Regions from separate parts of the Homo sapiens genome. Here region 1 is linked to region 2. Evidence: promoter capture Hi-C in human tissues and cell types (Jung and others, 2019). All regions are on one chromosome and are shown on one strand. The core of a region is centred on a gene start or on the middle of the fragment in contact, and the rest is flanking DNA. Distances in the headings are between cores, read along the strand shown. Region 1 has its middle 16 kb from the start of GAREM2. Region 2 holds the start of DRC1 (dynein regulatory complex subunit 1).

Evidence for each region. The method cuts DNA at HindIII sites, captures the fragments that hold promoters and counts their contacts. A contact is called where the count stands out against the background at its distance.
Region 1: a fragment that was not itself captured here is called in contact with the fragment with the promoter of DRC1 in region 2 in 1 of the 25 tissues and cell types used here (spleen).

Annotation. Positions count from the first base shown.
Region 1 is chr2:26,154,853-26,159,412 of GRCh38, forward strand. No RefSeq gene overlaps it. Among named protein-coding and RNA genes, the nearest start is that of GAREM2, 16 kb to the right of the region's middle. The HindIII fragment of the contact is 4,116 bases long and covers 1,153-4,560 here.
Region 2 is chr2:26,399,063-26,404,087 of GRCh38, forward strand. DRC1 (dynein regulatory complex subunit 1) reads left to right here and starts at 2,858. Exons shown (of 17, transcript NM_145038.5): 1 at 2,858-3,082. The coding sequence starts at 2,928. The HindIII fragment of the contact is 4,401 bases long and covers 283-4,683 here.

The DNA.
Region 1 (4,560 bases), core at 1,961-4,460, 240 kb before region 2:
GGCAACAGACTTGAATAGACATTTCTCCACAGAAAACATACAGATGGTCAACAAACACAAGAAAAGATGCTCAACATCACTAATCATCAGGGAAATGCAAATCAGAACCACAATGAGATACCACCTCATCCATTAAGAGGCTCACTATAAAAAAGGAAAAAAAAAACAGAAAATAATAAGTGTTGGAGAGCATGTGGAGTAATAGGAATCCTTGCGCGTTGTTTGTGGGATTCTAAATGGTGCATTTGCTATGGAAAACAGTACAGCGGTTTCTCAAAAAATTAAAAATAGAATTACCATATGATCCAGCAATCCAAATTCTGGATATATAGCCAAAAGGATTGTAAACAGCAGATATTTGCACATCTATGTTCACTGCAACATTATTCACAATAGCTGATATGTGGAAACAACCTAAATGTCTATCAATGAAGGAATGGATTTAAAAAATGTGTTATGTACATTACAATGGAATATTATTCAGCCTCAAAATAGAAAGAAATCCTGTCACATGCTACCACATGGATGACATACCTTGAGGACAGTATGCTAGATGAAATAAGCCAATCACAAAAAGACAAATAGCCAGGCGTGGTGGCTTATACCTGTAATCCCTGCACTTTGGGAGGCTGAGGTGGGCAGATCACCTGAGGTCAGGAGTTCAAGACTAGCCTGGCCAACATGGTGAAACCCCGTCTCTACTAAAAATACAAAATTGGTTGGGTGTGGTGGCACATGCCTGTAATCCCAGTTACTTGGGAGGCTGAGACAGGAGAATTGCTTGAACCTGGGAGGAGGAGGTTTTGGTGAGCCAAGATCGCACCATTGCACTCCAGCCTGGGCAACAAGAGTCAAACTCCGTCTCAAAAAAAAAAAAAAAAAAAAAAAAAGACAAATATTGCATGATTCCACTTATATGAGGCATCTAATGTAATGAAAGTCAAAATCAAAAGCAGAATGGTGGCCAGGGGCTGGGGGGAAGGGAATGGGGAGTTGTTCATGGGCACAGAGTTTCAGTCATACAAGATGGAAAAGTTCTAGATATCTATTGTACAACAATATGCATTTAATTAACAATACTGTACTGTACACTTAAAAATTAAGAGGGTAGGCTGGGCACAGTGGCTCATGCCTATAATCCCAGCACTTTGGGAGGCTGAGGTGGGAGGATTGCTTGAGCCAGGAGTTAGAGATCAGCCTGGGCAACACAGTGAGACTCTGTCTCTACAAAAGAAAAAAAGAAAGAAAGAAAAAGAAAAAGAAAAGATTAGCTAGGTGTGGTGGCACATGCCTGTACGGGAGGCTAAGGCAGGAGGATTGCTTGACCCCAGGAGGCCGAGGCTTCAGTGAGCCATGATCACGCCACTGTACTCCAACCTGGGTGACAGAGCAAGACCCTGTCCCCACTAAAATAAAATTTAAATACATAAATAAATTATCAGGTTAAAATTTTGTACTTTTTACCATATTTTTTTATTTTATTATTTATTTATTTATTTGAGACAGAGTTTGCTCTGTTGCCCAGGCTGGAGTGCAGTGGCACGATCTCGGCTCACTGCAATCTCTGCCTCCTGAGTTCAAGGGATTCTCCTGCCTCAGCCTCCCAAGTATCTGGGATTACAGGTGCCTGCCACCATGCCTGGCTAATTTTTGCATTTTTAGTAGAGACAGGGTTTTGCTGTGTTGCCCAGGCTGGTCTGGAAGTCCTGAGCTCAAGTGATCTGCCCACCTTGGCCTCCCAAAGTGCTGGGATTGCAAGCGTGAGCCACTGCAATCGGCCCACAATTTTTAAAAATTGACAAAGAAAAAATTTTAAAAATTTAAAAAAGACAAAGAACAAAACACAAGGCAAAAGTTTTAAATAGACATTTCTAAGGAAGATAGACAAAGGGCCAAAAAGCACATGAAAATATGTTCTATATCATTGGTCATTAAGGAAATGCAAATCAAAATTACAGTGAGAGACCACTTCACTCCCATTAGGACGGCTATAACAAAGCCAAACCAACAAACAGGCAAACTGTAAATTAGAAACCAGAAGACAGGCTGGGCGCGGTGGCTCACGCCTGTAATCCCAGCACTTTGGGAGGCCAAGGCGGGCGGATCACGAGGTCAGGAGATCGAGACCATCCTGGCTAACACGGTGAAACCCCGTCTCTACTAAAAATACAAAAAAATTAGCCAGGTGTGGTGGCGGGCGCCTGTAGTCCCAGCTACTCGGGAGGCTGAGGCAGGAGAATGGTGTGAACCCGGGAGGCAGAGCTTGCAGCAAGCCAAGATCGCACACTGCACTCCAGCCTGGGGAACAGAGCAAGACTTGGTCTAACAACAACAACAAAAAAACGGAAGACAACAAGTGTTGATGGAGATACGGAGAAACTGGAACCCTCATATGTTGCTGATGGGAATGTGAAATTGTTCAACTACTACTGTGGAAAACAGTTTGATGATTCCTCAGTAAGTCTAACATAGAATTACCAAACAACCCAGCAGTTCCACTCCTAGGTATTTACCCAGAAGAACTGAAAACAGGTATTTAAACAAAAACTTGTACAAGAATGTTCTTACCAGCACTATTCACAATAGTCAAAAGGTAGAACAACTCAACTGTCCGTCAACTGCTGAAAGGATAACACATATGGTATATCCATACTTTGGAATATTATTCAGTCATAAAAAGTAACATAGTATTGATACACACTACATTATAGATGAACATGGAAAACATTATGGTAAATGAGTGAAGCCAGACACAAAAGGCCACTTGTTATATGATTCCATCATATGAAATAGCCAGAAGAGGTACATCTATAGAGACAGGAAACAAATCAGTGGTTGCGAGGGCTGAGGATTGAAATGGGGAGTGACTGCTTAATGGGCGCGGAATTTCCTTTTAGGTGATGAAAATGTCCTGGAACTAGTGAGGATGATTGCACAACATTGCAAATGTACTAAATGCCACTGAATTGTCCTTTTTTTTTTTTTTTTTTTTTTTTCAGAGATAGGGTCTCTCCCTTTCGCCCAGGCTGGAGTGAAGTGGCTTGATCATAGCTCACTGTAACTTCGAACTTTTGGGCTCAAGTGATCCTCCTGCCTCAGCCTCCCTAGTAGCTGGGACTACAGGTATGTACCACCACACCTGGCTAATTTTTCTATTTTTTGTAGAGACAAGGTCTTGCTATATTGCCAAGCCTGGTCTCAAACTCCTGGCCTCAAGCAATCTTCCTGTCTCAGCCTCCTGTCTCAAAGTGTTAAAATTACAGGCATGAGCCACTGTGCTTAGCCTAAATTTTAAATTCTTAAATGATGAAGTTTAAATTTGTTGTGAATGTAAATTTATGTGAATGTTACCTCGATTTTAAAAAATAGTGTTACATAATTTAATCAATGGTTCATTAGTAAATTAAACAGTTTCGTTACTGATGGAAGATATCTGAGTTACCTGGAGTTACCCACGGTGAATCTGTACGGATCTGCGGCAACCTTAATTCTTGCCTCCTTGGAAGAAAGAATTCAACCGAGGGGCATAGGGCAGAAGAGACAGAGGCATGTTTCAGAGCAGGAGTGGAAGTTTATTAAAAAGCTTTAGAACAGTAAGGAAAGGAAGGAAAGGGAAAAAAAAGAAGGAAAATACAACTTGGAAGAGGGAAGTGGGATGACCTGAGAAACCAGTGTGCAGCTTGACCTCTGGACTTGGGGCTTTATATATTGGCATACTTCCGGGATCTTGCATTATAACTTCTCCCCATTCCTGAGATCTTACTGGGAAGCTGCTGATCAGTTTCAGGTATTTTCTATCTATTAGGAAACTGTCCTTCCCTGGCACCAGCTGTGACGAATTATTACTTTAGAGAAACAGGTGGCCGGGCACAGTGGCTCATGCCTGTAATCCCAGCACTTTGGGAGGCCGAGAAGGGCGGATCACCTGAGGCCAGGAGTTCAAGACCAGCCTGGCCAACATAGTGACACCTCCCCCCACCATCTCTACTAAAAATGCAAAAATTAGTCAGGCTTGGTGGCGCGGGCCTGTAGTCCCAGCTACTTGGGAGACTGAGGCAGGAGAGTCGCTTGAACCCAGGAGGCAGAGGTTGCAGTGAGCCGAGATCATGCCACTGCCCTCCAGCCTGGGTGACAGAGCAAGACCCTGTCTCAAAAAAAAAAAAAAAAAAAGAGAAACAGTTAACAACCACCTGACCATCACCTGACAGGTCTCCCAACACGCCTGGTCTATGTGTTGGTGGGGAGCACTCTCCGGCGCTGCTCATACCTGACTAGCTACCTACTGTAACAATTTGACTTAATAAGATTCCACTGACTGGCCGGGTGCAGTGACTCCTGCCTATAATCCCAACTCTTGGGGAGGCCAAAGTGGGTGGATCACTTGAAGTCAGCAGTTCGAAACAAGTCTGGCCAACATGGTGAAACCCTGTCTCTACTAAAAATACAAAAATTAGCCGGGCGTGGTGGCACGAGTCTGTAATCCCAGCTACTTGGGAGGCTGAGGCAGGAGAATCGCTTGAACTTGGGAGGTGAAGGTTGCAGTGAGCCGAGATTGTGCCA
Region 2 (5,025 bases), core at 1,608-4,107:
TTGCCTAGTGAATGGATATGCTAATTTATTTTTGTGTGTATACAAATAAATATGTTTTTATCTAGTTTTTTCAGTTTTTAACAATTTTCTAAATTTAACTCACTTATGAACTATTTACAAAGGCATGGAAAATTAAGCATGCATTTTCCCATTTATATTTAATCATAATTCATTACATGTCTTCTGACTTTCTTGTTTAGTGGTTTTTCTTTGTCTCTTTGTTTCATTCCTTTGACCTCTACAACCACAGTTGTCTGCCCCATGAAAATATTTCTTCCTCTCTCTGTCCTTTGTTCAGTTTAAAAAATTTTTAGTATTTAAAAAAATTCGGCAGGCCGGGCGGAGTGGCTCATGCCTGTAATCCTGGCACTTTGGGAGGCCGAGGCGGGTGGATCGCCTGAGGTCAGGAGTCTGAGATCACCCTGGCCAACATGGTAAAACCCTGTCTCTACTAAAAATACAATAAACATTAGCTGGGCATGGTGGCACACGCCTGTAGTCCCAGCTACTTGGGAAGTTGAGGAAGGAGGATCGCTCGAACCCAGGAGGTAGAGGTTGCAGTGAGCCAAGACTATGCCACTGCACTCCAGCCTGGGCAATTGAGCAAGACGCTGTCTCAAAAAAAAAAAAAAAAAAAAAAAGGAAATAATAGTTATATATGTTTATGGGGTACATAGTAATATTTCAATCCATATAATGTATAGTGATCAGGTCTGGTAATTAGCATGCCTATCAGCTCAAACATTTGTCATTTCTTTGTGTTGGGAATGCTCAATATCCTCGTTGCTATTTGAAACTATGTTATTGACTATAGTCACCCTCCAGTGGTGCAGAACACTAGAACCTGTCATTTTGTATCCTTTAACAAATCTCTCCCTATTCCACCCTTTACCCTAGTATGCCAATTTAAACAGTTAATAGATTTTGGCAAACTGTCCTCCTAGGAGGTCCCTTTCCAGCGGTGAGTGAAAGTGTTTCCCACACCAGTGAAAAAGGTTTATTACATAATTGAGGCTGCCTGTGGGAGCAAAGAGGGCCTCCCAGCTGGTCAGAAAATGGCTAGAGAGAGCCAGGAAAGGAGACAAGCTTGGGGCTTTTATTGTGGTTAAGGGGTGAGGCTGGGAGGAGGGTATCCTGTGCACGCAGATGAAATCTGCCAGCACCAAAAAGAGCACCTAGGCTTTTTTTAACAGCTTGCCCAGATGTGGAGAAGAAAGAGGGAGTGCTGCGTAAAAGCTGCCAGCAGCCAAATGTCAGCAGCAAAAAATGGAGTCAGATTTCTTATATAAAAAGATGTTGGAAGTGGTATCAGAACAGTGCAGGGCCAAGTATCTCACTGGTCACTCTTCATGGGTTTGTATGGTACCTTTGCTCTCACTTACCTCTTGTGCAACAGCTGATTCCCCCTGACTTTCTCATGGTATCCCACTCCCAGGCATAGACATGCGCATGCACACATGCTTGTTTCTGTCCTTACGGATAGTGGAAACATGAACCAGGACCTGGACGAGTTTTTGGTCAGAGCTGTATCATGGCTCCTAGGAGAGTTTAATACTTTAGGTTTCAACCAAAGGAGACAGAGATCTGGCAGAAGGCCCTGAAGCCTAGAAGCAAGTACCCCCGCTCCTACCACCACCACCTAGGCAGGTGTGAGACAAGGATCCAGGCAGCTGCTGTTAGACTCTATAGCTGTTGGATGGTTTTGGCATTCCTAAACCTCTCTACTGCTTGCAAACGTGGAAGAACTGATTTTAAAAACCCACTCCATTTGCCTCTGGGCAGTTCTTACTCACAAAGGACGGGTCGTCTTGGCCGCACAGTTGTCTGTGGGTTGCATCATTTAACAGCTGAGAAAATGCTCCTCAAGAAGTTGTGACTTGCCCAAGGTGGCAGGGCAGGGCTAGGACTAGTACTCACCCTTTCTCACTGCTCATCCAGTGCCCTTAATTCCCCACGGGCTAATGGGACAGAACCCTGTTAAATGGTATCCAGTTTTTGTTTGGTTGGTTGGTTGGGTTTTTTTGAGACAGAGTCTTGCTCTATTGCTCAGGATGGAGTGCAGTGGCTCGATCTCGGCTCACTGCAACATCCACCTCCCAGATTCAAGCGATTCTCCTGCCTCAGCTTCCCGAGTAGCTGGGATTATGGGTGCCCACCACCATACCCAGCTAATTTTTGTATTTTTAGTAGAGACGGGGTTTCATCATGTTCACCAGGCTGGTCTCAAACTCCTGACCTCAAGTGATCTGTCCACCTCGGCCTCCCAAAGTGTTGGGAGGCTGAGGCATGAGCCAGCGCGCCAGGTTTTAATTCTCAATGAGAACACTATTTTTGTTGACAATGAGACGCCCAGAAGATAGCGCCTTTCTGGGGACAGTTGAGAATTTAATAGTGCTTCCGCATTTCTAACTTTTATCCCTCCCCCCTCCCACGGACTGTTTTCCTCTATTCCACTTTTCCTCTTTCATAAGTATTTGATTGCAGGTTGGTATCCTGTATCCAAGCACAGCGCTTGGCATCGAGTAGGCGCTCAATTTTATTTGGTGAATATGAGTTGGAGGAATATTTGATGAATGAATGGAAGATGAATTAATCATCAGGGTCAGCAAGTGATGAACCACAACTTGGTCCAGTTCTTTAGTCCTCTAGTCTCCTGGTGAGACTCCACAGCTCCGCTAACACGACCGGGCCTTCGTGGGCCTGACAACAGACCTGACATCCCACGGGCGGGAGAGGCGTCAGCCCGAGGCTGGGATGCTCGGCCGGAACGGCGGCTGGCGGCAGGCTGGGCCCAGGGAGCTGCGCGCGCAACCACTCGGGCTGTGGCTCCGGTGACCGCTCTCCCTGGCAACGGTTTGTTCCTAGCAACCAGCCTGAGGTCTGGAGGTGGTGCGGAGGGAGCCGCCTAGGGACCAGGGACTCCTGCCATGAATCCGCCGGGGTCCCTAGAGGCCCTGGACCCGAACGTGGACGAGCACTTGTCCACCCAGATTCTCGCGCCCTCGGTCCACTCCGACAACTCTCAGGAGCGCATCCAGGCCCGGCGCCTCCGCATCGCTGCGCGCTTAGAAGCCCGGAGGCGGTGAGCGCGGGGGCGGGCGGGGCGGGATCCGCGCCGCAGGAGCCGGAGAAGGGCTGGTTTCCTGATGAAATAGAAACATTTCTTCGGGAAGGTTCAGGCAGAGTATGGGAAAGTAAAACGCTGGGCCGGTGCCGTGGCGCGCGCCTGTCATCCCAGCACTTAGGGAGGCCGAGGCGGGCCGATCACTGGAGCCCAGGAGTTGGAGATGGTCAACCTGGGCAGCATAGAGAGACCCCATCTCTATAAAACATCAAACAATTAATCGGGCGTGGTGGCGTTCGACTGTGGTCTGCACATGGCATCTTTTCCACTACGGACACCTCCAAACCACAGGGTCTGCTGGATCATGTGGCCCAAGTAGCCTGGCTGCTTACACTGTGGCCTGGGTCCTTTCTTGTTCCAGGCACCACTCAAAGCTGGCAGCTTTTTGTGTCAGCCTGAATAATATTCCTAAGTGCGGGATGTATTGTCTCTAGGACCCAAAGTGGCCTAAGAGGCATTGAGTTTCCTTCTCTGTAGAGGATGCAAAATGCAGTAGATTTGTTTTTTACTTGATAGGCTATCCCAGCATCCCACTGACCACTGGACCCCTACAAACTTGAATGACATGGCAGTCCCTGGGCCTTCATAGGGTTGATTGCCCACCGTCTGGAGCACACATGTCTTACCAAGCCCTGCAGTGTGTTTCCATCACTCGCTCACCCTGGCTGATTGCTGCGGGGCCATCAGTGGAATGCAGGGGCCGGCAAACCCTTTCAGTAAAGGGCCAAATAGTAAATATTTTAGGCTTTTCGGATCATATGGCCTCTTTCCTAGCTGCTCAATTGCCATTGTATTGCAAAAGCAGCCACAGGCAAGACATAAACAAATGGGCATGACTGTGTTCCAATAAAGCTTTATTTATGGACACTGAAATTTGAATTTCATATACTGTTCATGTATCACAAAATAGCCTTCTTTTGATAAAAAATAATAATAAACTTTATTTTTTAGAGCAGTTTTTAGGACCACAGCAAAACTGATCAAAAAGTATAGCATTCGCATATACTCCCTGCCCCCACACATGCACAGCTACTGTCAACATCCTGCACTGGAGGGCACATTTGTAACAATATATGAACCTTGGCGCATCGTTATCACTTGAACTCCATTGTTTACCTTAGGGTTTCTTTTTGGTGTTGTACATCCTATGGGTTTGGATAAATTTATGGTGACACGAGCCCACCAGTATAGTATTATACCAAATATTTTTACTGCCCTAAAAATCCCCTGTGCTCTGCTTATTCATCCTAGTCTTTTTTTAACCATTTATTTATTAACCATTTAGAATTGTAAAAATCATTTAAAATTGTAAAAACCATTTAAAATTGTAAAAAATCGTAGCTCATGCCTGTAATCCCAGCACTTTGGGAGGCCAAGGCAGGAGGATCACCTGAGGTCAGGAGTTCAAGACCAGCCTGGCCAACATGGCGAAACCCTGTCTGTACTAAAAATACAAAAATTAGCCAGGTGTGGTGGCAGGCACCTGTAATCTCAGCTACTTGGGAGGCTGAGGCAGGAGAATTGCTCGAACCTGGGAGGCAGAGGTTGCAGTGAGCTGAGATAGCGCCACTGCACTCCAGCCTGGGTGACAAGCACAAAACTCCATCTCAAAAAAAAAAAAAAAAAAAATTGGGCCGGGCGCAGTGGCTCATGCCTGTAATCCCAAAACTTTGGGAGGCTGAGGCGGGCGGGATCACGAGGTCAGGAGTTTGAGACCAGCCTGACCGACATGGTGAAACCCTGTCTCTATTAAAAATACAAAAATTAGCCAGGCATGGTGGCGCGCGCCTGTAATCCCAGCTACTCAGGAGACTGAGGCAGGAGAATCGCTTGAACCCAGGAGGCGGAGGTTGCAGTGAGCTGAGATCGTGCCATTGCACTCCAGCCTGGGCGACAGAGCG